7 separate regions of the Homo sapiens genome follow, and all the other regions are linked to region 4. Evidence: promoter capture Hi-C in 16 types of primary human blood cells and fetal thymus (Javierre and others, 2016). All regions are on one chromosome and are shown on one strand. The core of a region is centred on a gene start or on the middle of the fragment in contact, and the rest is flanking DNA. Distances in the headings are between cores, read along the strand shown.

The links. Contacts are between HindIII fragments. The CHiCAGO score rates a contact against its expected background, and 5 or more counts as called.
Region 1: a contact is called between a fragment that was not itself captured here and the fragment with the promoter of SERP1 in region 4, in 2 of 17 cell types (total CD4 T cells and naive CD4 T cells). The highest score is 5.0, in total CD4 T cells.
Region 2: a fragment that was not itself captured here is called in contact with the fragment with the promoter of SERP1 in region 4 in 1 of 17 cell types (naive B cells); the score reaches 5.2 in naive B cells.
Region 3: a contact is called between a fragment that was not itself captured here and the fragment with the promoter of SERP1 in region 4, in 1 of 17 cell types (total CD4 T cells). The highest score is 6.5, in total CD4 T cells.
Region 5: the fragment with the promoter of RNF13 here is called in contact with the fragment with the promoter of SERP1 in region 4 in 10 of 17 cell types (non-activated CD4 T cells, fetal thymus, naive CD4 T cells and 7 more); the score reaches 13.8 in non-activated CD4 T cells.
Region 6: a contact is called between a fragment that was not itself captured here and the fragment with the promoter of SERP1 in region 4, in 1 of 17 cell types (neutrophils). The highest score is 6.1, in neutrophils.
Region 7: a fragment that was not itself captured here is called in contact with the fragment with the promoter of SERP1 in region 4 in 2 of 17 cell types (erythroblasts and naive CD4 T cells); the score reaches 6.3 in erythroblasts.

Annotation. Positions count from the first base shown.
Region 1 is chr3:149,960,682-149,964,232 of GRCh38, forward strand. RNF13 (ring finger protein 13) reads left to right here. Exons shown (of 10, transcript NM_183381.3): 10 at 59-1,458. The coding sequence ends at 423. Among named protein-coding and RNA genes, the nearest start is that of PFN2, 8.4 kb to the right of the region's middle. The HindIII fragment of the contact is 7,519 bases long and covers 1-3,551 here.
Region 2 is chr3:151,267,106-151,270,833 of GRCh38, forward strand. The region is part of intron 16 of MED12L (mediator complex subunit 12L); the gene reads left to right. All of the region lies in intron 1 of P2RY14 (purinergic receptor P2Y14), which reads right to left. It also overlaps the pseudogene SETP11. Among named protein-coding and RNA genes, the nearest start is that of P2RY14, 9.6 kb to the right of the region's middle. RefSeq lists an enhancer at 1,743-1,812. The HindIII fragment of the contact is 157 bases long and covers 1,411-1,567 here.
Region 3 is chr3:151,197,591-151,201,216 of GRCh38, forward strand. The region is part of intron 16 of MED12L (mediator complex subunit 12L); the gene reads left to right. It overlaps GPR171 (G protein-coupled receptor 171), which reads right to left. Exons shown (of 3, transcript NM_013308.4): 2 at 3,319-3,407; 3 at 242-1,849. The coding sequence starts at 1,796. The coding sequence ends at 837. Among named protein-coding and RNA genes, the nearest start is that of GPR171, 3.8 kb to the right of the region's middle. The HindIII fragment of the contact is 2,400 bases long and covers 663-3,062 here.
Region 4 is chr3:150,544,333-150,548,018 of GRCh38, forward strand. It overlaps SERP1 (stress associated endoplasmic reticulum protein 1), which reads right to left and starts at 2,164. Exons shown (of 3, transcript NM_014445.4): 1 at 1,720-2,164; 2 at 1,371-1,446; 3 at 1-166. The coding sequence starts at 1,803. The coding sequence ends at 126. EIF2A (eukaryotic translation initiation factor 2A) reads left to right here and starts at 2,455. Exons shown (of 14, transcript NM_032025.5): 1 at 2,455-2,498. The coding sequence starts at 2,471. RefSeq lists enhancers at 1,675-2,305, 1,751-2,950, 2,223-2,762. The HindIII fragment of the contact is 4,802 bases long and covers 931-3,686 here.
Region 5 is chr3:149,811,517-149,815,434 of GRCh38, forward strand. It overlaps RNF13 (ring finger protein 13), which reads left to right and starts at 1,699. Exons shown (of 10, transcript NM_183381.3): 1 at 1,699-1,837. RefSeq lists enhancers at 1,056-1,567, 1,433-1,542 and a silencer at 1,073-1,222. The HindIII fragment of the contact is 6,716 bases long and covers 1-3,045 here.
Region 6 is chr3:149,835,745-149,839,774 of GRCh38, forward strand. All of the region lies in intron 1 of RNF13 (ring finger protein 13), which reads left to right. Among named protein-coding and RNA genes, the nearest start is that of RNF13, 25 kb to the left of the region's middle. The HindIII fragment of the contact is 5,997 bases long and covers 1-4,030 here.
Region 7 is chr3:151,140,612-151,144,582 of GRCh38, forward strand. All of the region lies in intron 5 of MED12L (mediator complex subunit 12L), which reads left to right. Among named protein-coding and RNA genes, the nearest start is that of MED12L, 57 kb to the left of the region's middle. The HindIII fragment of the contact is 759 bases long and covers 1,445-2,203 here.

The DNA of each region.
Region 1 (3,551 bases), core at 736-3,235, 580 kb before region 4:
AAATATAAAAGTATCAACCGCAGCATACTAACTAAAGATGTATATTTTGCTTCAACAGCTTATCACTGCAAGTGTGTAGACCCTTGGCTAACTAAAACCAAAAAAACCTGTCCAGTGTGCAAGCAAAAAGTTGTTCCTTCTCAAGGCGATTCAGACTCTGACACAGACAGTAGTCAAGAAGAAAATGAAGTGACAGAACATACCCCTTTACTGAGACCTTTAGCTTCTGTCAGTGCCCAGTCATTTGGGGCTTTATCGGAATCCCGCTCACATCAGAACATGACAGAATCTTCAGACTATGAGGAAGACGACAATGAAGATACTGACAGTAGTGATGCAGAAAATGAAATTAATGAACATGATGTCGTGGTCCAGTTGCAGCCTAATGGTGAACGGGATTACAACATAGCAAATACTGTTTGACTTTCAGAAGATGATTGGTTTATTTCCCTTTAAAATGATTAGGTATATACTGTAATTTGATTTTTTGCTCCCTTCAAAGATTTCTGTAGAAATAACTTATTTTTTAGTATTCTACAGTTTAATCAAATTACTGAAACAGGACTTTTGATCTGGTATTTATCTGCCAAGAATATACTTCATTCACTAATAATAGACTGGTGCTGTAACTCAAGCATCAATTCAGCTCTTCTTTTGGAATGAAAGTATAGCCAAAACATAAAAAAAAAAAAATCCTCAGTATAGCTTGCAATTAAGACCTAGATCACAGTATTTAAGTGTTTTGCGTTTTATACATGAGGTCAGTGCTACAGCCACCTAGCATGAACTAACCCAGCTTCCACCTCCATAAAGTTACCTAGAGTTGTTGAGTTGGAATATGTTCTGGCATTTACCTGACCTGCCAATCATTAGGGAGAGGCAACAAGGTAATTCAGCCTTTCCTCCTATCAGCACAAAGAAACTCAAAGCTGTTTTTTCCCTTTCTGTTCCAAAGCAGTCTTATCCTGACAGGAGCGGTCTATACTAGTGCAGATTTCAACACTTTTTTTTAACGTTTTAATTACTATAGTGTTATGTAGAGATTTGATTGAGCAGCTAATGTTTCTGAACTTTACTTACTAATTTTCAGTGTCCTTAAGGGTTCTGTAGTGTTATCAAAGCAAAAAGAAAATGCTGCATAAAAATACCAAACTTCAGCAACTGTTAATACTCAGATCATATACCTCTTAATAAATAGCATCTTATGCTAATTAGCCCTGCTAAACTATGTACAGAGGAAACTGTTCAAGTATTGGATTTGAAAGTAAGTGACTTATGTTTAACAGAACTAATGATGTATTGAAACACTGTATTATGAAAAGCTAAATTATACATCATTGTAACTATGTAGAAAGTGTAGACTAATGTATAATCAAAATGCTAAGGATTTTTATATGGCCTTGTATGAGGGGAGTTTGAATGTTAATAAACATGTTTTCCACTTTAAGATCCAGTAAATGTCTGTTCTACTGTAGTATTACTTACCATATTAGCCTTATTTATATATATCCTATAAAGTGATAATGATTGAGGTCAGAGAAATCACATCACCTTAGGACTTTATACAAGGTAACTGACCATTCACATGCAGTTAGGTAATATCCCAAAAAGTTTAGACTGCTGCCAAAATTATTCCAAAAATAAACAGTGTACATTTTGGTACCCTGTTGTAAATTATGGTATATCGAGGGAAAATTTCACTTTCCAAATTGCCTTTTAAAAAATAATGTTCATAATCAGGAAAAAAATAAATAGGTATTTCTACTTTGGAAAATAAACGGTTGAATTCAACATCAGCTATCTGATACCTCATCCCTCTTCCCCTTTTTTATAAAAAATTAAAGAACCACAGGCCTGAGAAACAGGACATCAAAGGTTACCACGGTAGTTAAGCAGAGTTTGGAATTTGACATAATTGTATGGCCCTAACCTTTTTAAACCTGCTTGGTCATTTGCATAATTTTCATTTAACCTAAGAGGGTGTGAGGAGAAAACATTGAGCTCAGTATCTGGCACATCAATGCGCAATAAGTAATAGCCTTCAAAATAATTATTATTAAATAAAAACAAACCTAAAACAATATTTTAAAATAGGAAAAGGGAAAAAAGTAAAAAGTCACGGTAATGGTTAAGTATGTATTAGATGTTATATTCCCTCAGTCTTTAATCCAAAGTTTAGAATAAGGACCTGGTCCCTTTATGTTAGGAGTTTTATGGAAAAAAAAATTTTTTTTTGAAATTCCAAATAATTACTAACTAACTGTAAAAAAAAATCTACGAAGTGTCTTATTTAGCAGCACTGGCTAGGGCTGTTACTAGGTTCTGTGAATGTTCACTTGAAATGTTCTATAATTTCATGGTATAGCTTTTCAAACAGGACAGTAGGTGCAATTAAAATCCAATTTCTATTTAAAAAACATTTAAAACTTTCTTGATTACAAAAGTAATATTAACACTAGAAATCAAAATATAGTCACCTGGAAACTTTCACTCCAGAGATAAATTTATCTTAATATATTGCCTTCAGAAATACATATGTAAAATACATGTATATTAATACTGTATGTATGTGCACTGTCATGTGACATGTTTATATCCTTATATTATTAACATTCATTGGTAAACATTCTTATGTCATTCTTCAATGACTATTTTGTCCTATGGACTTAAAATCATTTATTCAAACCATACCCCTTAAAAAGCTGAACTTTGTAGATATTTTCCAAGTTTGGATGTCATAAGTAATGCAGCATGATGGACATTCTGGTATACAAATTTGTATAGCTTCATTTCCATATGCTAAATTCCTAGAACTAAGTACAAAGCAAAGTACGCATGTATGTATTTCCCTAAGTATTTTTCTAATGAAATTGTGGGTAGAAAGCCAATGAATAGTTTCATTATATACTATTTTAGTGATACACTCACCCTTTACCACCTTCTCTACCCACAACCTCCTCTCTGAACACACACATACACACTGCCCCTTCACCTACTTACAGATTAATTAAGAGTTTCAGAATTTTGGTCACTGCCTTCTATAATTGGTTACCCTAATAGTTCTTTACATGTAAAGTGTGAATGTGTATTATTGTAAAATCTCAAATCATCACAACTCAACCACCAAATTTTCATTTGCCCCGTCTTTTGGCCTTAACAGGTCAAGAAACTGATACCAGGTTTTTATTATAGTTTTACAATTTCTAGGTTATGTCCAACTACCAAAATAGCCCCAAATCCTTTATCTCCCATATTTGTACATCCCTGTGTATGTACAACCATATTCACAACCAGTGCCTGACAACTAGTCAAAGAAAAAAAAACTTTCATTATGCATAGTATATTTTAAGACAGGTTAATTCCTATTCCCTAACCCATTTTTTCTCAAAAGGTAGCATATACACCACTTAAAATGAATCAGACTGACTCAGTGATTGTTTCTGAAAAGGGATTCCTGGGCTTATGGACTCTCCATCTCCAGAGTGGAACCCCAGAGTCCATAGTCTGCCTTATAACCAGCTCCCCAGTTTTACTGAGACCTACTAACTTTT
Region 2 (3,728 bases), core at 239-2,738, 720 kb after region 4:
TCCTTACATTCTTGAAGTGAAGTTTATTTTGACTGTTTACAGGAACTATCAACTAAACACTTCATGGAAGATGTGACTTATGACAGTATTCCTTACTGGGAGATTTTTGCTTTCTTTATTCTTTTTGACCTTTGGCTGTGAAAAGGATTGTACATTGTCATTTAGAAAGGCATAACAATAATGAAGTGCTATTAAGGAAATGGTAGTCATTGAAATACTTCATGAGAAAAGGAATTTAAGTGTATAATGTAATCAAATTTAAGTAGCTAATCACAAATCCCCTTTTCTTTTTAGAAAGAAACAATATCAAGGTTATATGTTACTTTCTCTTTTTTCACCCTAAATTCTAAGCCACTATTGATTATCCCTGAAATGTTAGCTTGTGAATCTGGGTAATTGTTAAAAACAGAAAAGTGCAAGCTACAAATGAGAGCCTCGGTCCTTGCTTAGATGTAAATAGTTTTCCTATGAATTTAAAACATTTTTTTAAAGCCACCTAAATCCTATAAAATAATGCCAGTGTTTCAGGCTATAGAAAATGTCTCTTGAGAGTAATATCTTGTAACATGTATTACTTATATATATAAGTCAGTTTTCAACAGAGCTGCTGTGAATTACTGTTTTATGGCCTAATTCATTAAAAAGAATTGCCTAATTGTGGTGTAGAAACTTAGGCACTAAGGCAGAGTAATAAGAAAGGAACCTTGCTAAAACATGGAGCATGTTTTGGCTGAATAATATCAAGGAAACAGCTGTCAAAATACAGTGTTTGAGAATAGCTTTTTAAAATTTCTTTGTACGTAGAGTATTTTATCAGTTGCTAAGTACTTAAGAAATGCGCTATTATCCTAATTTATGAATTTCTCCAAATGCCAGTAAAATGGACAAGGGTAATTTTTGCTCTTTTTAGTCTTATGCGTTCTTAGTAAAGTCTCAAGGAAATAGCTGGAAATGCTCTGTTTTAATATGCATCGGTGGTAGTCTTTAAACAGTGGGAATACTTCTTTTTATGTTTTCAGCTTACATGTTTTCAATACAAAGCATTAATAAAACATTTTTTAAAGCTACCTAAATCCTATAAAATAATGCCAGTGTTTTAGGGTATAGAAAATGTCTCTTGAGAGTAATATCTTGTAACATTTATTACTTATATATATATATAAGTCAGTTTTCAACAGAGCTGCTGTGAATTACTGTTTTATGGCCTAATTTGTTAAAAAGAATTCAGTCTATGCTAATGACATGGTAATTTTCTAACATATATACAAAGAGGAAGAAAATATGGTGAGCATACTGCTCTCCATTTTCTGTGCTGAGTTAAACTGCTATTTGTACAGAAATGAAACTGGATTATCCCTGCCCTAGTCAAGGCATGTCCTAGGCAGAACCATAACATGAGTTCTAAATGGAAGCTTCCAGGTTTCTCCATTTTGTCTAATTTGTGAGTTAGACATTTTGTCAAATTTTGCCTAATTTGTTTCAAATTTTGTCTAATTTGTGAGTTCATTCCCATTAGTGGTTTTTTAAATCTAGAATGTTACTGAGGCTGAGCATAGAGCCTTTAGTAAGCTTTGAAAACACATTTCTTCTAACCTATAGGGCATTTATAAGTGAGTCAGCAGTGTTTACAAAGCACTTGTTCTCTGCAGAGAGCTACTAACAGATGAAATGGAGGAATCAAGGAAGCAATTTAAGATGTATCATAGACCTAAAGGTAAAACTAAGACCACAAAGCTTCTAGAGGAAAATGTAAAATACCTTCCCAACCTTCGGTTGGTTTTAGTATGCAAAATTTTTTAGCCACAAAACAAAAAAAATTAAGTTTTCTGAGCGTCTTCCTGACGAGAAAGAAGAATTGTGGTCTGGTTCTTGAACTTTCCTAGCGGTGTGACCCCCAAAACCAAGACTACTTCCTGCTCTGAGACCGGAGGAGACATTGGCCTCTCTGGGCTTGCTGAAGAAGGGAGAAAAAGAACAGAAAGAAGCAATTGAATATATTGACGACGTACAAAAGGAAATACAGGCTGGGCGCGGTGGCTTATGCCTATACTCTGGGAGGCCAAGGTGGGTGGATCACCTGAGGTCGGGAGTTCGAGACCAGCCTGACCAACATGCAGAAACCCCATCTCTACTAAAAATACAAAATTAGCCAGGTGTGGTGGTGCATGCCTGTAATCCCAGCTACTTGGGAGGCTGAGGCAGGAGAATCACTAGAACCTGGGAGGTGGAGGTTGCAGTGACCTGAGATCGTGCCATTGCACTCCAGCCTGGGCAACAAGAGTGAAACTCCATCACACACACACACACACACACACACACACACACACACACACACAAAATTCAGAGACTTAATGAACAAGCCAGTGGGGAGATTGTGAAAGCAGAACAGAAGTATAACAAATTCTGCCAACCATTTTTTGGAAGAGGTCAAAATTGATTGCCCAAATTTCAAATTTTTGGGTAACAGCATTTGTCAGCCATCCACAAGTGTCTACATTACTTGGGGAGGAAGACAAAGAGGCACTGTATTATTTGACGAGTTGAAGTGACAGAATTTGGAGGTATTAAATCAGGTTACAGAAAGATTTTTATTTTGATGAAAATCTTTAGTTTGAAAATAAAGTTCTCTCCAAGGAATTTCATCTGAATGAGAGTGGTGATCTATTTTTAGAGTCCACTGAAGTCAAATGCAAATCTGGAAAGGATATAATGAAAACGTTCCAGTCAAACGCAGAGTAAAGTCAGCAGGAAGAGGCAGCACGAAGAACCAGAGAGCTTCTTTACCTGGTTTACTGACCGTTCTGATGCAGGTGTTGTTGAGTTGGGAGAGTTCATCAAAGATAATACTTGGACAAATCCATTACAGTACTACTTGGTTTTCAATATGGATGATGAAGAAAGGGAAGGAGATAAATGATGAAGAAGGATGGGAAGATATTGATAAAGAAAGGGGATAAGGATGAAGATGAAGAAGATGAAGATGATGATGAAAGGGAGGAAAGAAAGGGGGTGAAGGAGAAAATGACTAATAGAACACTGATAGGTTCCAACCTTTTTAAAAATTTTCTCCAGTTCCTGGGAGCAAGCTGTCGTGTGTGTGTGTGTGTGTGTGTGTGTGTGTGTGTGTGTGTGTGTGTTTTCTTTTGGGCTCAGCTGCCTTGTTCTTGAGGTCTTTTTTTCTCTACACCACAGCTCTCAACTTATTTGGGGGGAAAATAACTTGAGCAGAATACAATGGGAAAAGGATCTCTACCCCTTTCTGTTCCAAATTCATTTTTATCCCTTCTTGTCTGAACAAAAACTGTATGGATTTAATACCACTGAACTCTCTGGGGAAAAAAGAAAAACCTCCCTTTGCTCTGCTGGAATTTGCATGGTGCTAAGCCCCTGTGTATTAGTGCACAGAATTTTAGCGCTTTTCTTCCTTTCTCTGTGTATTATGCTCAGAACACTGTGTCTCTGCGTGAATATGGATAGTTAGCATTTGCCAACATGTATCTGTCTACTTTCTCTTGTTTAAAAAAAGACAAAACAAAAAATGGGACTATGTAAGGTCAGCAAAGGGTGAGTTTGAGATGTTTGGGTGGGTTAAGTGTGTATTTTGACAACATGGCTTCTCCTTTGGCATATTTAATTGTGATGTTTAATGGGCATCTTTGCAGTTTAACATGACACATTTAAAATAAGTTCTCTCCAGTGATGACTCTTGCCCTGCCACTCGATGGGAC
Region 3 (3,626 bases), core at 613-3,112, 650 kb after region 4:
CATCTGACTGGTGCTGTTTTACCATTGATGTGCTATCGATGTGATTTTCTAGTTCCAAAACACTAGTTTCAGTAGTTAGTATAACTTAACAACTCCCTCTGAAATGTTACAGGGCCTCTGTGTTTCATGTTACTTCAAAATAGAAATGAGAAGTCACTAAATGTATTATTACTAACATCAGGAAGCCTTTATTATAACCTACAGGTAGAATATAATTACAAATAATACATTAAAGATTGTCTATATTTTTCAAGCCTTTTTATAAATAAAAGCTTTTGGTTATTGTGTTAGAAAAAAATTCGACATTAAAAATTGGAGGAATAATGAGTTGAAAGATTACCATCTTTTGAAGTGATAGATTAGAAATAAAATAGGCACAAGTTGTTATATGTAAGCTGCATTTTTTAAAAGTAATCTGAAAGGCTTTAAAATTATGTTGCTGGTGGGCTTTCTGGTAACTTACATGGAAATTATTTTTTATATTTTTATCAAGAAGTCAGTTCCAGGCATTTAAATGAATAACTCATGAATACCTTTGGGTCTATGTCATGGACCTCTTTTGGATTTCAAGGATATTGCAGGATTTTACATTCGTTCAATGAGACTCTTTAGTTTTTTGTACAAATATTTGGGTTAATGAGTAGCAGCAAGCCTAACAATAAAGCTTGACTTGCATTTAGAAACAGGATTTCTAAGTAAACCTGTCCATATTTGCTAGCTAACTGTATTTTTTCATACTGAGTTTTTTTTTGTTTTTTTTTTTTTTATCTTTCAAAGCTATAATTAACTTTATGGTCCAGTAAGGCCAGAATTGGTAGCACAAAAAATCCTGTCTTTTATGCATTATTTTCACATCTTAATTTTTCTTTCTGAGCCTTGGTCTCTTTAGGTGAGGCAAAAGTCTCAGTGACCTTTGAGCGGAATGCTTTTGAGAGGTGATAGTACAGGATAGGATCAAAGCACAGGTTCGACACAGCCAGGAGCAGTGTAGCCTCTTTGGCTTTGAAGAGTGAAATCCTGGTTGAGCAATCAGTTATGACTTCTGTCTGGCTGAGGGTATACGGGATTCGGACAATGTGGTAAGGAACAAAGCATATGATGTAGCCCGTGGTCACTAAAAGTATGTTGATGAGAGCCTTTTTCACATTTGGGTAATTTTCATTATCTTTGTTTCTGTAGAGCTGTCGAATTACAAGGCAATTGGATATTAAAATGATGGCTGAGAAATTTAAAAATATTGCTACACATATGAAATTTGTCAGCAAATGCCAATTTCTTCCAAATTCCTTTTTAAACTCCATACAACCCACATTTGACTTTTCCTTGATGTCTTTGATGGGAATCATCATATTTGGCACCATTATAAGAAGGACCATTAGCCACACAACGGTTGATATCATTTTGGCAAATCCGGGTTCTTGTATTCGGTAGATCTTGCAGCTGTGTGTCAGCTGAAGACAGCGGTCAATGCTGACAAATGCTAAGAAGATAATTGATAAATACATATTGATATAGATGAGGCAGGCTGTTACTTGGCAGTGGAATATCTTCAGCTTCCAAGGTGCCACACCCAAGTCAACAACAATTTTCACTGGTAATGCCAGAGTAAGCAGGAAATCGGCTGTAAGCAAATTAATTAAGTAGATGCTCACACACCTGTGATTCGTATTCTTCTGTATAAAAGCCCAGGTTGCAAAACAACTTCCAATAATTCCAACAAGGAAAACTAAATAAAAAAAATACGTGAATGGCTCCAGATCTTTATAAACTGGGCAGAAGAACGAACTGTTTGTCATCTTGAGGGAAAGTAAGGATGACTGCTTATTGAAAAGAAAAAATTTCTAAGACTCTGTAAAAGAAACAAGGAAAGGGAGGTTAGTAATTAAAATTAGCAACTATTTTCTTTAAAAGACATTGGTCTTCACAATACCGTTGTCTTTCCAGTTCTTAGAATTTTATTGGTGAACTTACCAGACCATATGGCCTGGTGAGAACATACTAGATTGTGAAGATGCCTGGGTTTTCCATTGTCTGATTTTGTGACTTTCAGGAAATCCCATGCAGGTTTGCTTTTGGTAGGGATATTTTCAACCTCAGGTTTTTCCATTCTGGTAGTTCTTGTTACCAGTTGGGTTGGAAGTTAGTTTGCAGAGGAGATAAGTGAACCGAGATTCTGAGAAGTAGAGAGAGGAAACTAGGGTTGTGGTTGAGCATGAAGAGCTTTCAATGAGGCCTTCTGGTTTTTTTCTTGTTTTAGTTTTTTGTTTTCCATAGATTCATGTGGCTCCTAAGGCTGGGAGAACCCAGGCTGACAGGGGAAGTAAGGAGTTGATGGAAAATCTCCAGCCTGGTCGCAAGAGTCTGTCTCAAAAACAAACAGAAAAAAACCAAAAAAACAAACAAAAAAACCCACAACTACCAGAACATGGATGTATGTTCATTGGTTACAAAATCCTTGGAGAAAGATTTATTTATATTAGTATCAAAACATCTGACTTCAACACTTGAGTCGCTTTTTTTTTCTTTCATTGTGGGTTTTGAAGCAGTTAAAAGCCCAGAAGCATAAGACATACCCTTAGAACTACTGTGATCACCACTGATAATGACAATGAAGTCTTGTCATGTCCCTCCCAAATCTGGAACATTGAGCGGGTTTGTAAGCTCAAGTTAAACTGATAGGGCTCCCTTTGACCTGGTCTATTCAAACTCACATGCTTAGAGCTAAGGGTACATTAGTAATCTTTCTGGTGCTGCCTGTTGGTGTGGGTCCCCCTTTTGCACATTAAACAGTGTTCTTTTGTTTTAAAGACCTGAAGATTATTTTTGTATTTTAGCAAGGAAACATTTTATATTATAATACAACCTTTTTAAAAGAAGCAAATATAAGTTATAGTGACCAACATTGAAGGCCAGATCAGCTACTCTGTAAGTGCCTTTTAATAAGAGAATAAAACTTCTGACATCTTTCTAAATTTTAATTTCCCCAATTAATTAATGATCCTTTGTGTGCATTTGTAATGAAACAATGTATGCAAACAGATGAATAAGGCAGATGTACACAAAGCTTTCTAAATTCAAGTGCTGCTTAAAGGCTACATGCCCTTTCTCTTTCCCTACCTGAGTTAGCACGTTAGAGTCCATGAATAATGTCATTCTTTACCAAACTCGATGAAAATAATTAAGCAGTTGGTTTGTATCTGGCACTATGCCAAATACTTTACATGTACTTATTTAACTTCTTATCATTTCCATAAGCTAGGTGTTGTTATTGTCCCTGCTTTACAGATGAGGAAATTGAGGCATAATGGGGTTACTTACCCAAGGTTGTGTAGCTGGTAAGATATAAAGCCAGGATTCCAGCTCAGTCAGTCTGATCTCAGAATCACATTCAAAACCACTCCAAAACACTGCCTCAGTAACAATAGTAAGATGATGATAGAAATGATAATGATTATTATTATATCTGCCAGTCTTTACTAAGGGCTTACTGTGTGGGCAGGAACTATGTTCTAAACAATTTTTATGTAATAAAGCTGAAATAAACTATTTTTAACTTTTTACCAAAATACTAAGAATATAAGTTTAGGCTTTTCGTATATTTTGCTGTTCTATGCATACAACCACGT
Region 4 (3,686 bases), core at 914-3,413:
ATGATAGGAAAGTCATTCTGAGGCAGGATGCTTTACTGAATTGTTTTCAACCAGGGTATCAAACATCAGGAATGAGTTCAAGTTAAAATTCACAGGAGAATGGAAACATCTTAAGGTCAGTCACTTCACATGCCCATCCTGATACTTTGAATAATCTGGAAAATTGCTGTAAAAAGAAAGAGCAAATATTAAAATAAGCTTTGAATAAAATAGGTCTGGTGTCTAACAAATATTTATTAAGGTAGCTGAAGAATCCAAAGGTACTCTTACATTTGCAAATGGTACATAACTTCAGTATAATAAGAAGTGAAGACAGGCCTGTCTGAATAAATAAAACAATGAAATATCCCTGAGTTATTTTTTTATCTTAGCTTCGCTGAACTTTATGTCTAAGTATCCAAGAGAACTTGCAGATAAGTAATCATTTTACAAAGAACTTAAAGCACCAAAGCCAACAGGTTTTTCCAGCATAGAATTATTTTGGTTTATAAGCATCCTTTTAAGGCCTGGCCTGTAACACATGCATGTTTCCTCATTCTCACAAAGCTGAAATTCAATCATCTTCAGGTTATATAAACTGCTTGGCTCTCATCCATTTATCAGGAAAGCTTCCAATTGGTAAGTGAAGAAGAAAGGCAAAGTGAAACGTTAAACAGAAATCTCAGTAATTTTAGAATGTGGAAAACAAACATCTACTTCAATATTAACAGCTTGCATATTAAAATGATAAATGAAGAGAGGAAAGACCTTTTTTTTGTAATCTATTTGCAAAGGCAAGTGTCTGTTACTCTTAGGGGACAGCAGGCTACCCCGACACTTTTTTTTTAAACCATGTATCAAACGTTTCTTTTATTAACCTAAAAACATTTGACTCACACATTAAAATGCCAATCAGGTAATTTCCTCTATAGTGAATCAATTCTTTGCACAAGCTTTATTTTATAAAATATACTCAATTTTGACATTAAGACATTAGATTCTGGTATATGTTAAATCAAGTTCTAACATCTATAGTACATATTTATAATTTTCTTTGCAAAGACTGATAATGGAGTTACAAAACATTCTAAATTCTCATTTCGTTAGGTTTTGTCCGGTCTTAACATTTATTCCAACTGGATCATTACCAAGACCTGACCTCCTTTTTGATCTCCTGTGAGTACAAATTAAGCTGGGAGAAGTTTCTGGAGCACCACCCTCTGTGCATATGTGGAACAAGTAATTTGGTTCAGACGAAACAGAATTATGTGGAGTCCTCGGCAGGTGGGTTGAGAACTACGCAGGTAGGACTCACTACTGACCGGTCACCACGTCATCCCAAATCCTTTCAACCCAAGACTCTACCTGATGGGAGCCCCCAAGCCACTTACCAGAACCACAGACAACAAAAATGAAGAGAGCCAATAACCAGGGTCCTACAGACGCCTTCTCTTCGGGGGCATTTCTCTGCAAAAGCGAAAATCCACCATTTCAGATGCAGAGAAACCACTCGGACCCCAGGCTCCCACGCCTGCACGCCGGTCGCCGGCCCCCTCACCTCACAGGTCTCCCCTTCCGTTCCCGAGCCCCCACAGTCTGGCGGTTCGCAGACTCGGGCCCCTACCCCTCCACGGCACCAGCCCACGGTCGGCCGGATCCGGGAGAAAACGCGACGCGGCCCCAGGGACCCGGACTCAGCTCCGGCTGCGGAACGCAGAGGGGCGCCCGCTCTTTCCTTACCGAGGTCTTGGCGACGTTGCCGCGCTGGGTGATGTTCTTGCTGTGCTTCTCGTTGGCCATACGGATCCTTTGCTTGGCGACCATCTTCGCGGCGCCACCACCTGCCCCGGCCACCCCTCGGACTCGCTCACTCGCCTGCCTCCTCTGGAGCCGCTGCGAGGCTCGGCTCGTGGTGCCCGCGCCGCCGGAGCGCCGAGGTTCTCAGGCCAGACGCTAGCTACGGCCGCTGGGCCTGGGCGCCGCAAGCGCGAGGTCTGAGCACAAGCCGGGCGCCGGCCGCCGACTGACTGACCGAGCGGGGCAGGTGCGCAGGAGGAAGAGAACTGGCCGCCGGGTCGTTCTCGCGCCGCCGTCGCCGCCGCTTTGGCCGCCGCCGTGAGCGCGGAGTGAAAGAGGAAGGAAACGCAACGCAACAACGGGAATGTGCAGCCCGCCGCCTCGATCTACTTTGGGTTCGGCTGCCAACGTCAGCACTAGACGGACTCCGCCCCGCGGAAGTGCGCGCCCCTCCCGCTGGAGAAGGAGGGCGAAAGCAGGCGCACCCTCCCAAGCTCTGTCAAGCGTCGCCCTAGATTTGCGCGTGCGCGTTTGGGCGCCTTTTCCGCGTCACTCCGTAACCGGAAGTGAATTGGCCCCGAGGCTGATGGCTCCGGAAACACCAATTCGCTGTCTCCACGCATGAGGAGACGTGTAGGGGCCGGGTTCGGCCCTGGTGAACTCTCACCCGAGCGGTTTCTCTTTCCGGGACAACATGGCGCCGTCCACGCCGCTCTTGACAGGTGAGTTCTGAAGAAGCGAGGGACTCTCTTTCTTCAGACTAGTTTCTTATTTTTGTCTTTGCCTTTGAGAACTACCCGAGGAGCCGGGGAGTCTGATCTGCCTTTTCTTGTGGCTTGCGGAAAGGCCAGACTGTTGGCTTTCTTGATATAGCGTGGCAATCGGAAGTGAAGTCTCCGCCTCTGGGCTTTCGTATTCCCCCTCCCTTTCACCCATCCATCATTCTTGCCTGCGGATTCATCTTCTACAGAAATAGAAGAAGGGGGAGAAAAACAATGTGCTAGTTGAATTTGTGACACATGGGTCTGCAATACTGGTGTTACACGGGCCCTTGTGAAGTCATTTAGGTCTACAATAAGAACAAAGACAAACATGAGTTAGTCCTCTAGAATGATCACGCACTTTAAATACACCTGGACTTAAGTAATTCCAGATTCTGGCCTTCCTGCCTTAATGAGGTTTGTAGGACTGAATAGGGAGAGTGGAGCTGTAATGCAGGTTTCAAATGATGAAGGTGTGGTTGGGAGAGGGTGTAGCAGTGAGCATGATAGAGATATTCTAGCAACATTTGATTTTGAAATGGTTATGAGCATATTAGAAATAGAACATTAGAGGACTCTTGAAATTTTGAAGCTAAAGACTGTAGTGTTGGAGGAGATAATAAACTTAGATTGGAAAATGCTGGGGAAGTTGCTTTACTAGGGTGTGGCTAAGAGTCTGCATATGAGTATTACGTAAGGAAAAGAGAGTCGGGAAGGAAAAGAAGGTTTTGGTTAAGTTCTGATAACTATATAGAAGGAAAAAGTCATTAAGAGAAAGGTTGTCTGCATTTAAGGAGGGAGGCTATTCCCTCCCTTCCCCCCCGCGAAAGGAACCTTAAAACATTTTTGCACTTTTTGCCAGTCTACATTTCTATTTTTACATTTTAAAATCTTTGTTATTAAGCGCCATGCCCACTGATGCTCAGTCTGTCTTCTGCAGTTTAGTCATCATTTATCAAACGCCGAGTATAATCTTCTAGATAATATACCAGGCAAAGACTGTTTAAAAGGCAAAGTTACATAATAAATTTTTTTTTAGGTTTGTAAAGGTAGCTTGTTATTCACAATTTTTAATACTAAATGCTTATTTGAACTCTAATGAAAAAATTACATTCTAAAATCTGATAAATAACCCCTCCTTTAAAAATG
Region 5 (3,918 bases), core at 449-2,948, 730 kb before region 4:
ATTTTGTATTTTTAGTAGAGACGAGGTTTCACCATGTTGGCCAGTGTGGTCTTGAACTCCTGACCTCAAGTGATCCGCCTGACTTGGCCTCCCAAAGTGCTGGGATTACAGGCATGAGCCACCGCACCCGGCCTAAAAAAATTTATTTTGATGTTATGCAAGAAATCTGATTTAATATACCAATTTGGGATAATTTAATGAAAAAAATGCTTATAGAGATATTATAAATGTGTTTATACTAATTAGTCTTCTTAGTAATATTCCCAATGCTGACTTTTATTTATGACTTTCTTAAAGGCAGAATTGTGATTTAAGTATTGAATGTCTTTGCAACCAATGAAAAGTTAAGACTACATAGAATACTCATAGGATACACAGAAGAGGAAAGTACCTTTGATAGCTTTTATTTAATTTTTTAAAATTTGATCTTAAATTTCTTGTATTTGAATTTTATTTGAGTAGGTAATATTTGCAAGGTTCAAAATTCAAAAGGCACAAAAGGATACACAATAAGGAAAGAGTCTTTTCCCCATTGCTGTGTCCCACCTACTCAGGGCTCTCCAAGCAATCAAAGTGACAAGTTACATCCAATGGTATTCTACTAATACTCTGTGTGATAGCCTCCTCGCCACCATTTTTAAAAGATGATGTTGAAGGAGTTGAAGCCTGTAAAGGCCTTATTAAGGGTGCCTTATTATTTGAAGCAGAAGTAGTGCCTGATTCTATGTCTCCTGACATTTCTTTCAGGACTCTGTAATATTTGCCTAAGTCACACTGCTTTTGTAAGGTGGCGAGTTGGCAATGATTAATCAATGTGGATGGTACAATCCGGTAATTTAAGTTTCGACTGGTTTAAGATTGAGACAACCAGAAAGGAAGGCTTATCAGAAGGGCGGCAGGGGAGGAGATTTTTGGTTCATCAAAAGGAGGCAAGGGTTTTAAAAGGCTGACCTAGGGCCTGAATCACATGGTTTGACTTTTGCTAAGCCCCGGGGATGGCGCGTGTCAGGCCCAGAGTGCTGATGCCAGCGTGGATCCGAGCCAGGCCTCAGGGGACTGGCGTTCAGACCTCGGGCCGCTCGCATCTCTAACAATTTGAGCCCTACTTTAAGGTGTGGCCACGGTCCCCACCCACTCTGATCTCAGACTGGGCACGGTACGGAAGGCGGGCGGATGAGGCCTCGCCCTCGCCTCTTTAGTAGGTCGGGTGAGTGTAGTGTGCAGGGAAGAGACGCGTCAGCGCCAGGGCCAGGCCCGCCCGGGGGCAGCCCGGCAGCCGAATCTTGGGCTACTCTGTCCCAACAGCCGGAGCAGATCAGACCGACCGGCCCTGCCCGCTCGGTCCCGCGCCCTCCAGACCCTACGGTCTCCGTTTCTAGGGGCACATGGTTAGCGGCAGGCGCCCACAGCCAATCCACTTTGCCAGCCTGCCCCTTCCTCTGCCAAGAGCAGCTTCTTCAGCCGCGCTCCAGTTCCGCAGACGCCTGCCCCACCCTGCTCTTCCCTTCCAGGGAAGACGGATCACGCGGCCAAGAACGAGACTCGCAAACTGGGCATTTCTCCGAGCCGGGCTAGAGCAAGTAGCGAGACTCCGCGTGAGAGTGGGAAAGAGCCTTAACAGGCAACCATGTTGCCCAGTGGGTTTTCTGTGCCTTTGGGTGCGGACCAATGAGGCGCGTGGGGCGGGACTTCCGCTTCGCCTAGGTGTTGTCGTCCCTGCTAGTACTCCGGGCTGTGGGGGTCGGTGCGGATATTCAGTCATGAAATCAGGGTAGGGACTTCTCCCGCAGCGACGCGGCTGGCAAGACTGTTTGTGTTGCGGGGGCCGGACTTCAAGGTAAGACCCTGTCCGGCTTCGCGGCAGCCGGGCAGCTCGTTATCGAGCGGCCCAGAGAACATACCCCGCTTGTTGGCCCTCGAGCTCGGAGTCGGCCCTGCTGCTGAGGTCTTTGCTGCTCCTCTAGAGCTGGGTGAGAAGTCAATTAGGCTTTTTGCAAAAGGAATAAAATAGCCTTGCCCTCGGGGGACCGAGTCTCCCCTGCACTCTCATTCCGCGAGTTTGTGTGTGTCCAAAGTTGAGTTACCGGTTTTGCTTCTCTCATTCCCTTCTTGAGGCTGCAAGAGCCTGCCTGGAAAACATGTTTGGAAGGCTTTTCTTGGTCAAGTACCTGCCGCAACGTCCTCGGGCACATCGCTTGACTTTAGTTGAGGGGGCTGTTTTGTCTCTGAATAGAAGGAGGGCAGTCACTTCCTCTCTTTTACCCCCACCCCCTTTTTCTTTCCCTGGAAGCTCAGATTGCAGGTTTGGGACTTAACCCCTGCTAGGGCCAGATACTACGGTCAGTCAGCAGCTCTGCCTGTATGCTTGACTTGACTTGACTTGCACTTATTAAATAACTTTGTCCCAGAGAGAAAGAGAGAGTGGGCAGACATCGAAGCCAAACAGCAGTATCCCGGAAGCACTCATGCAACTTTGGTGGCGGCCACTCAGTTTTCTCTGCCAGTGTCTGGTAAATTCCTCTATTTTGTCCTAATCTGACAATAGTAAATAGTAAATTTCCAAAACTGTCGTTTCATCATCAGTTTCAGCACCGTGGGCAGCTGCTCGGGTCCTCTCTTGTTGCCCCAAACCTGCCCGGCTATTACTGTTCGTCAGTGATGCAGCAGAAACAGTGAAAACTGATGCATTCCTTTCAACAATGATGTGTTTGTTCTCCAAGGAGAACATCTGCAGTTTTTGATACAATATAAATAAGTAAGGTGGCTGTGCCTCCAAAGAGTTCTTCTGGAGAAACAGATCAATTCAAGATTTAAGGTAGGGCTTTCAAGAGTTTATGCTATTTAAGCACAGTTTTTTAATGGGTGGACATTAGCTCCATCTCGAAGTAACAAAACTGGACAGTGATAGCAATTAAAAAGAACTTTAAACAGGAGGTAAGAAGTGTAGTGCAGTGCTGTAGTGCAGGAAGTGTAGTGCAGTGCTGTAGTGCAGGGCCCATAAGGATTCATTAATAGATTTTAGAATCAATTTAGTACATTGACATAAGCTTTATAAAGAAAGAAAAAATACCAGAGGACATTGTATGGAATAAAAGTAAATATTATGGCAAGAAGCTTTTGTTTCAGTTTTTAACAGTATGTGTGTGTCAAGAGGAAGATGGAAATGTAAAGTGTATTATGGATTATGGCAAAAACAAATGTTTCAAAATACTAAATTCCAAATTTGGGAGTCAAGCTGGGTTCAGCTCTGCCATTTACTAATTCTGTGACATTTTCCGTAAATAAGAAATGAGTTGTTATGAGGATTAAATGAAACAAAATTTGTCTATTACATAATTTTTTTTTGTTTTGTTGGAAACTGTTGGAGAGAGGCACAGTTATTTTTCTCTATGTAGGGAATGAGAACTGTTTTATTAGTTTTTTTTTTTTTAACCTCTGCCTTTGTTTGAAGCTAGGCAGCTTGACATCTTGTCTCTATGTGTAATGCAAATCATAGACAGAATCTTGGTTTGAGAGGTATAATACTGAAGGGTTTGGGATAAGTTCTCATCTATGCTTGTATAAAGCTAATTTTCTCAATAATTTTGGAGGGGCATAAATTGTTGCTAGCATTCAGCTTTCTTCCCTTGATATTTTTCTGCATTCCAGAATAACGTAGATTTATCAGAACTTTTACAGGCACTAACTTTAGCTAAGTGAGGGTAGGCCTGAGGGTATGACTAAAGGGATAGATTTATGTCTTTGAGTTAAGTTGGCTAGGAAGGCATTTTATGCCTTATAGTTCTTGCCATAAGAGATGTATGAAATGAAATAGTTTGGTCAACTATCATGGTATGTTTTGCTTACTTCATGTAGGTGTGACCTAGAAATGGTTGGCATTTAAATAACAATATTTTTAAATCTGGGAATTGATGTTTA
Region 6 (4,030 bases), core at 1,091-3,590, 710 kb before region 4:
TATTTTTGCAATTGTGAATTGTGTTGTTATAAACGTGTGTGCAAATATCTTTTTTTTATGACTTTTCTCCTGGGTTGGGATTGCTGGATCCCCAGTAGTGGGATTGCTGGATCCCCAGTACTGGGATTGCTGGATTCCCAGTACTGGGATTGCTGGATTCCCAGTACTGGGATTGCTGGATCAAATGGTAGTTCTACTTTTGGTTCTTTAAGGAATCTCCACATTGTTTTCCATAGTGGTTGTACTAGTTTACATTCCTGCCAGCAGTGTAGAAGTGTTCCCTTTCACCACATCCATGCCAACCTCCATTTTTTAAAATTTTTTTGATAATGGCCATTCTTGCAGGAGTAAGGTGGTATTGCATAGTGGTTTTGATTTGCATTTCTCTGATCACTAGTGATGTTGAGCATTTCTTATTTTGTTTGTTGGCTATTTGTGTATCTTCTTTTGAGAATTGCCTATTCATGTCCTTAGCCCACTTTTTGATGGGATTGTTAACTCAGTGGCAAAAAACCAAGCAACCCAATTAAAAAATGAACATAGGAGCTGAATAGACATTTTTCCAAAGAAGACATACAAATGGCCAAAAAGTACATGAAAAGATGCTCAACATCACTAATCATTGGGGAAGTGCAAGTCAAGACCACAATGAGATACCACTTTACATGTATTTTAGTATGGCTATATGTATATATATATATTGTATATATATGTCTATCATAAAATAGATTTAAAGTGGTATCTCATTCTGGTCTTGAAGGAAAACAACATAAAATAGCAAATGTTGGCAAGGATGTGAAGAAATAGTAACTGTTTGTGCATTATTTGTGGGAAAGTAAAATGGTGCAGCCACTTTGGAAAATGGTATGGCAGTTCTTTAAAAAAAAAAAATCAAACGTAGAATTACCATATGATCCAGCAATACTTCTGGGTATATGCCACAAATAATTTAAAGCAGGAACTCAGTTATTTTTTTCACAATAGCTAAAAGATCTAAGCAACCCAAGTGTCAATTGAGAGATGAATGGATCAGTAACATGGGGTATGTACATATAATGGAATATTACTCAGCCTGCTAAGGAAGGAAATTTTCACATGTGGTACAACACTTCAAGATATCATGCTAAGTGAAATAAGCTAGTCACAAAAGGACAAATATTGTATGATTCCACTTATATTAGGTAGTTAGAGTAGTTGAATTTATAGAAACAGAAAATAAAATTGTGCTTGCCAATGGCCAGGGGATGGGGCATGGGTAATTAATGTGTACCAGGTTTCAGTTTGGGAAGATGAGAAAATTCTAGGGATGGATTGTGGTAATATTTGCACAACAATGTGAATATAGTTAATGTTACTGAACTGTATACTTTAAAATTTTTTATATGGTAAATTTTATGTCTGTATGCCACATTAAGAAAAGAGGCTGAAGGCCTTCTGAAAAGATCACTGAAGAGTTAAAATAATTTTTCATGCATTTAGTAAACTTTTTATTATATAAATTCTCAAACATATAGAAAAGCAGAGAAATAGTGTAATGAATCTCAATGTAATCTTCACCTAGATTTATAGTGTGTTTTTTTCTGAAGTGCTTTAAATGACAGATATCATGACATTTCTTTCCTAAGTACTTTACTATAATAGATAGCTCCCCAAATAAGGACTTTTTCATACAGCTATTGTATTAGTCCTTTTTCACACTGCTGATAAAGACACCTGAGACTGGGCAATTTTCAAAAGAAAGAGGTTTAATGGACTTACAGTTCCACATCACTGGAGAGGCCTCACAATCATGGCAGAGGGTGAAAGGCACGTCTCACATGGTGGCAGACAAGAGAAGAGAGCTTGTGCAGGGCAACTCTCCTTTATAAATCCATCAGATCTCATGAGACTTATTCATTATCACGAGAATAACATGGGGAAGACCTGCCTCCATGATTGAATTACCTCCTGCCGGGTCCCTCCCACAACACATGGGAATTCAAGATGAGATTTGGGTGAGGACACAGCCAAACCATGTCATTCTGCCCTGGCCCCTCCCAAATCTCATGTCCTCATATTTCAAAACCAATCATGCCTTCCAAAAGTCCCCCAAAGTCTTAATTCATTTCAGCATTAACTCAAAAGTCCACATTCCAATGTCTCATCTGAGACAAGGCAAGTTCCTTCTGCCTATGTGCCTGTAAAATCAAAAGCCAATCAGTCACTTCCTAGATACAATGGGGGTACAGGCATTGTGTAAATACAGCTGTTCCAAGTGGGAGAAATTGGCCAAATCAAAAGGGCTACAGGCCCCATGCAAGTCCAAAATCCAGCGGGGCAGTCAAATCTTAAAGCTCCAAAATGATCTCCTTTGACTCCTTGTCTCACATCCAGGTCACGCTGATGCAAGAGGTAGGTTCCTATGGTCTTGGGCAGCTCCTCCCTGGTGGCTTTACAGTGTACAGCCTTCCTCTTGGCTGCTTTCATGGGCTGGCGTTGAGTGTCTACGGCTTTTCCAGGTGCACGGTGCAAGTTGTTGGTGGATCTACTATTCTGGCGTCTGGTGGACAGTGGTCCTCTTCTCACAGCTCCACCAGGTGGTGCCTCAGTAGGGACTCTGTGTGGGGGCTCCAACCCCATATTTCTCTTCCACACTGCCCTAGCAAAGGTTCTCCATGAGGGCTCTGCCCCTGCAGCAAACTTTTGACTGGGGATCCAGGCATTTCCATACAGATTCTGTAATCCAGGCAGAGGTTCCCAAGCCTCAATTCTTGACTTCTGTGCACCTGCAGGCTCAATACCACGTGGAAACTGCCAAGGCTTGGGGCTTGCATCCTCTGAAGCCAGGGCCCAAACTGTACCTTGGCTCTGTTTAGCCACGGCTGGGATGCAGGGCACCAAGTCCCAAGACTTCACAAAGCAGCAAGGCCCTGGGCCCAGCCCAGCAAGCCATTTTTTCCTCCTAGGCCTCTGGGCCTGTGATGGGAGAGGCTGCCATGACAACCTCTGACATGCCCTGGAGACATTTTCCCTATTTTCTTGGCAATTAACATTTGGCTCCTCGTTACTTAAGCAAATTTCTACAGCTGGCTTGAATGTCTCCTCAGAAAATGGGTTTTTCTTTTCTATTGCATCATCAGGCTGCAAGTTTTCTGAACTTTTATGCTCTGCTTCCCTTAAACATAAGTTCCAATTCCAAACCGTATTTTTGTGAATGAATAAAACTGAATGCTTTTAAGAGTACTCAAATCACCTCTTGAACAGTTTACTGCTTAGAAATTTCTTCCGCCAGATACCCTAAATCATCTCTCTCAAGTTAAAAGTTCCACAAATCTCTAGGGCAGGGACAAAATGCCACCAGTCTGTTTGCTAAAGCATATCAAGAATCACCTTTTCACCAGTTCCCAATAAGTTCCTCATCTCCTTCTGAGACCACTTCAGCCTGAACTTCATTGTCCATATGACTATCAGCATTTTGGTCAAAACCATTCAACAAGTCTTTAGGAAGCTCCACATTTTCCCACATTTTCCTGTCTTCTTCTGAGCCCTCCAAACTGTTCCAACCTCTGCCTGTTATCCAGTTCCAAAGTCACTTCCCTTTTAAACTAAGTTTTCTGGTATCTTAATAGCAGTACCCACTCCACTGGTACCAATTTACTATGTTAGTCCATTTTCATACTGCTATGATGAAATACTCAAGACTGGGTAATTTATAAAGAAAAAGAGGTTTAATGGACTGACAGCTCTACATGGCTGGAGAGGCCTCAGAATCATGGCAGAAGGCAAAGGAGAAGCAAAGGCATGTCTTACATGGCAGCAAGCAAGAGAGCATGTGCAGGAGAACTTCCCTTTTATAAAACCATCAGTTCACATGAGACTTACTCACTCTCATGAGAATAGCATGGGAAAGACCTGCCCCCATGATTCAATTAACCTCCCACGAGGTTTCTCCCACAACACCTGGGAATTCAAGATGTGGTTTGGTTGGGGATGCAGCCAAACCCATACCAGCCATAATACTATCATCATAGCTAAGGATTTTTTTAAAGGA
Region 7 (3,971 bases), core at 574-3,073, 600 kb after region 4:
TTATGTTTAATTAATTTTTTGGTGAAATCAAAGAAAATGTATGCCCATGATAGTTTTTGAATTTATTTATTTATTATTTATTTTTTGAGACAGAGTCTTGTTCTGTCGCCCAGGCTGGAGTGCAATGGCCTGGTCTTGGCTCATTGCAACCTCTGCCTCCCGGGTTCAAGTCATTCTCCTGCCTCAGCCTCCCGAGTAGCTGCGATTACAGGCACGTGCCTCCACACGCAGATAATTTTGTTTGTTTGTTTGTTTGTTTGTTTGTTTGTTTTTTGAGAGGGAGTCTCGCTCTGTTGCCCAGGCTGGAGTGCAGTGGCACGATCTCGGCTCACTGCAAACTCCGCATCCCAGGTTCACGCCATTCTCCTGCCTCAGCCTCCCGAGTAGCTGGGACTACAGGCACCCGCCACGACGCCCAGCTAAGTTTTTGTATTTTTAGTAGAGATGGGGTTTCACCATGTTAGCCATGATGGTCTCGATCTCCTGACCTTGTGATCCACCTGCCTTGGCCTCCCACAGTGCTGGGATTACAGGCGTGAGCCACCGTGCCTGGCGTTTTTTTTTTTGTTTTTTTTGTTTTTTTTTTTTTGTTAGTAGAGACGGGGTTTCACTGTGTTGGCCAGGCTGGTCTCGAAATCCTGACCTCGTGATCCACCTGCTTTGACCTCCAAAAGTGCTGGGATTACAGGCATGAGCCACTGGGCCTGGCCAGTTTTTGAATTTCTTAGAGAAATGCATTGAAAGAAATTACTGTATTTCACTTGAATAAGGAGTGATTTAGTTTAAAAAAGGTTTATCAAGAGTCTGTGCATTGGGGTAGATGCTGTGAAGATTTTTAACCAAATGGGGGCTGTGCTGTTTGTCTGTAAGGGGATACCATCTTTTTGTGGTTACAAGATACACACCTAAAACGGAGCATAATACATTAGTATCTAATTACCTGTAATCATATAGGAAATAATGGATCGACTGGAAAAATTAGGGAAAGTTTTCTGTAGTAGTAAAATATGAGCTATGCCTTAAAGAAATCTAGCCTTTAAGTAAGAATTGGGATTTTTTACTCTGTTTTTTGGATCTTAAGTAGTTCTTGGTTCTTCAGTTATCTTCCATCTTCCTCTTTGGCAACTTATGAGCAAATGAATTAAGTTTATAGTTCTGTTCCAGATAGTATATTCGCTGCAGTCTTTACTACTGTCATTTCTTCTGGTCTTGTCACTTTGGGTGAATGGTCTAGTCCCACATTTTCTGTTAAGAATCCATTGCTACTCAACAGTTTTTTCTAGTCAGTCCTAGTAAATGTTCACTCCCACTTGAATTAATCAGTCATCTTCTATGATAAAATGTTAATAAGAACCTTGATTTAATTGGTAAATCATGGTTCCCTACCCTCTTTATGGCTATTGGTATATACGTGCATACTTGGAAGATAGTATACTACAAAATAAGCTTGTTCAAAGTCTTGGCAGTTTACAGGCTGGTTTCGTAGCTTCTCATTTGGGCTAGTTTTCTTGAAAATTCTCTGAGGTAGTTGAGTGCCTCCATTTCACAAATGAGGGGACAAAGTTCGTGGAAAGTGGAAGAATGGGAAATTCCATCCTAGACTTCTGTTTCTGGGTCCTGTTTGATTTACAGAATTTGCATGCTGCTCACATCAAATGAAGATCAACTGTGTGAAGCTGAGTGGGGGAATGGTGTTTGCTTAAGGTATGAAGAATGCTTCCAAAAGCTCAATGTTTAATGAGTTTTAATTTGTTGGGCATCTTGCAGATCTGTTGCTTAAAGCATAAACAAGAGAATTTTAAGAAAAGATAGCTTCTTGTATGAGCTAAAATTTCTAATAGGTAATATTACAAAATGTGGTCCAAAACACAAAATGTTCAGAAAGGGATAGTGAAGTCTCCTTTCTAACATACTGTCTTCAGACCCCCTACCTCTATCCCAGACCCCTCCTTACATAGTTTAGAAGCAATAATTCTTACCAGTTTCATGCATATCCTCTGAGATATATTTCATGTATTTTTAAGTGTAGATTTTGTGTATTTTTTAACAGTCCTTTAAAAAATTGGTGCTTGCTCCATACTGTGCATACAGTGGCCTTGTTTTTTAAATGGCTCTAAGCTAACCTTTTAATGACTTATTTATAAAAGCTAGGTTCTTTATTTTTGCAATTTGCACTGGAATGTTAATTCCATGATAAATAGAAAGCTTTTTTTTTTTTTAATTAAAAAGAAGTACATTAGGTTTCAAAGTCATTTTCCAAATGTGTATAAACTTCCAAGTGAAATCCCTGGAATAACATGGCTCTAAAGCCTGATTCAAATCTGTTATTTTGTAGTCAAGGAATTCATAGGGTATGCCGGGTAGAAAACAGTTAAGGGTCAATAAATTATAGTTGGAATGTCTTTGTGAATCTAACACAGCTAAAGCAAATAGCTTTAATTAAATGAACATAACATGCATCATTCTTTAGTCTCCAGAAAAATCACACAGGAGTGAGTTCCGGAGCAGGGAATGAGAGGGAAGCCGGGGTGGATCTGGCTGGTCTGTGTACTGTGTAAGCATTTTTGCTGTGTTTTAGAGCTTTTTGCTCTAGGGTTATTTTACACGGTCATCTGGCAATATGATGTCTGTCGTATTTGTGTTCTAATGAAAGACTCTTAGCTGTCTAAAGCTTGTTCAGAAATAGAAACTTTACAGTAACTGCATTTAGGACCTAAATAGTAAGCACAATGCCACTTTAACTATTGAAACGTTACTCTAACTACAGCTGATCATGGGATTAAATTCCAATGCAAAGTGAAAAAAGAAAATGTAGTTTGTTTATTTTTGCTCCTCAGATGATTGGGCGCTTCCTCCCACTGCCTCTGCAGCAGAAGCTGGGAGAGGAGGTGAGGGTCGTGAAATGTCTGATGTAATAATTTAAATAACTTCTGTGTCTTCAGAGTGGGGCTAGCAGCAAGTATCTTTCACCAGTGCTTGTCCTCCGTTTTTCTTTTGCTCCCATTCCCCTGAATCTTCAGGAGGGTGGGTGCCTTCCCTTTCTTCCCCATGTCTCCTCTTCTCCCTTCTACAGCATTGTCCCCCAAGACCTGGCCAGAGGAGTGCACAGAGGTGTGTTCTCTACACAGAAGCAAAGTGGTGGCCTGTGTGTCTTGCTAGAAGACAAGTCTTACATCTTCCTACAGTCCTCCTGTCCTGGGGCAGTAAAACTCATGACTTGGTGTCACATGTAGAAGGCTGTGGGGATATGTCCTAAGTGGTTAATTAAGTGCACCAATTTAATATTTGTAAAAATGCTGTCCCTGTTATTCCCTATGATACGAATATTTCACCAAAGCCAAGGCTGTTGCTCACTCAGGTATATATAGAAATCTGAAAAGATGACAGAAATTTACCATATGATAATTCCAACATTAATTTCAGACTGCTATCTCATGCCCTGGAGAAGGAGCTGAGCCTGTTGGTGGCACATGTTCAGTGTGTCCCTCTGTTAGAAGGAAGCCCCCGAAACTGTAGCTGTGGGGGAAGCTGGTGGTGTGACTGATGTGTCAAATAAGAAATTCTTGTTCTAAGGGCTAAAATTGGATTCTGTGGTTGCCGCATGCCTTAGCTTGAGATGCATGTACAGGGTTGATAGGGAAAAAGGACAACTGGGGGAAAAAAAAATCCCTAAATGCGACAGTTAGCATGTTTACGTTAAAATGAAAATGAGAATTGGAGACCTGTGAGTGAAAGGGAGAATCCAAGAAAGGTGTCCAGTGTGGTTCTCCTCAGCTATCAGATACAGCCCAGCAACCTCACAGGAAGAAAGATGCAGTCGGGAGTTTCCATGCAACCTTGCAGTACAAGACTTTTGTGCTCTTGTCAGACCCTCCCTTGTCGACCCCTCTCCCCTATTTTTGTATCCTTGTCAGAGGCCTCGGCCCCCTGTTTTCTGACTTGGCCACGCTGGTCTCTTTTCTTCTGAAATC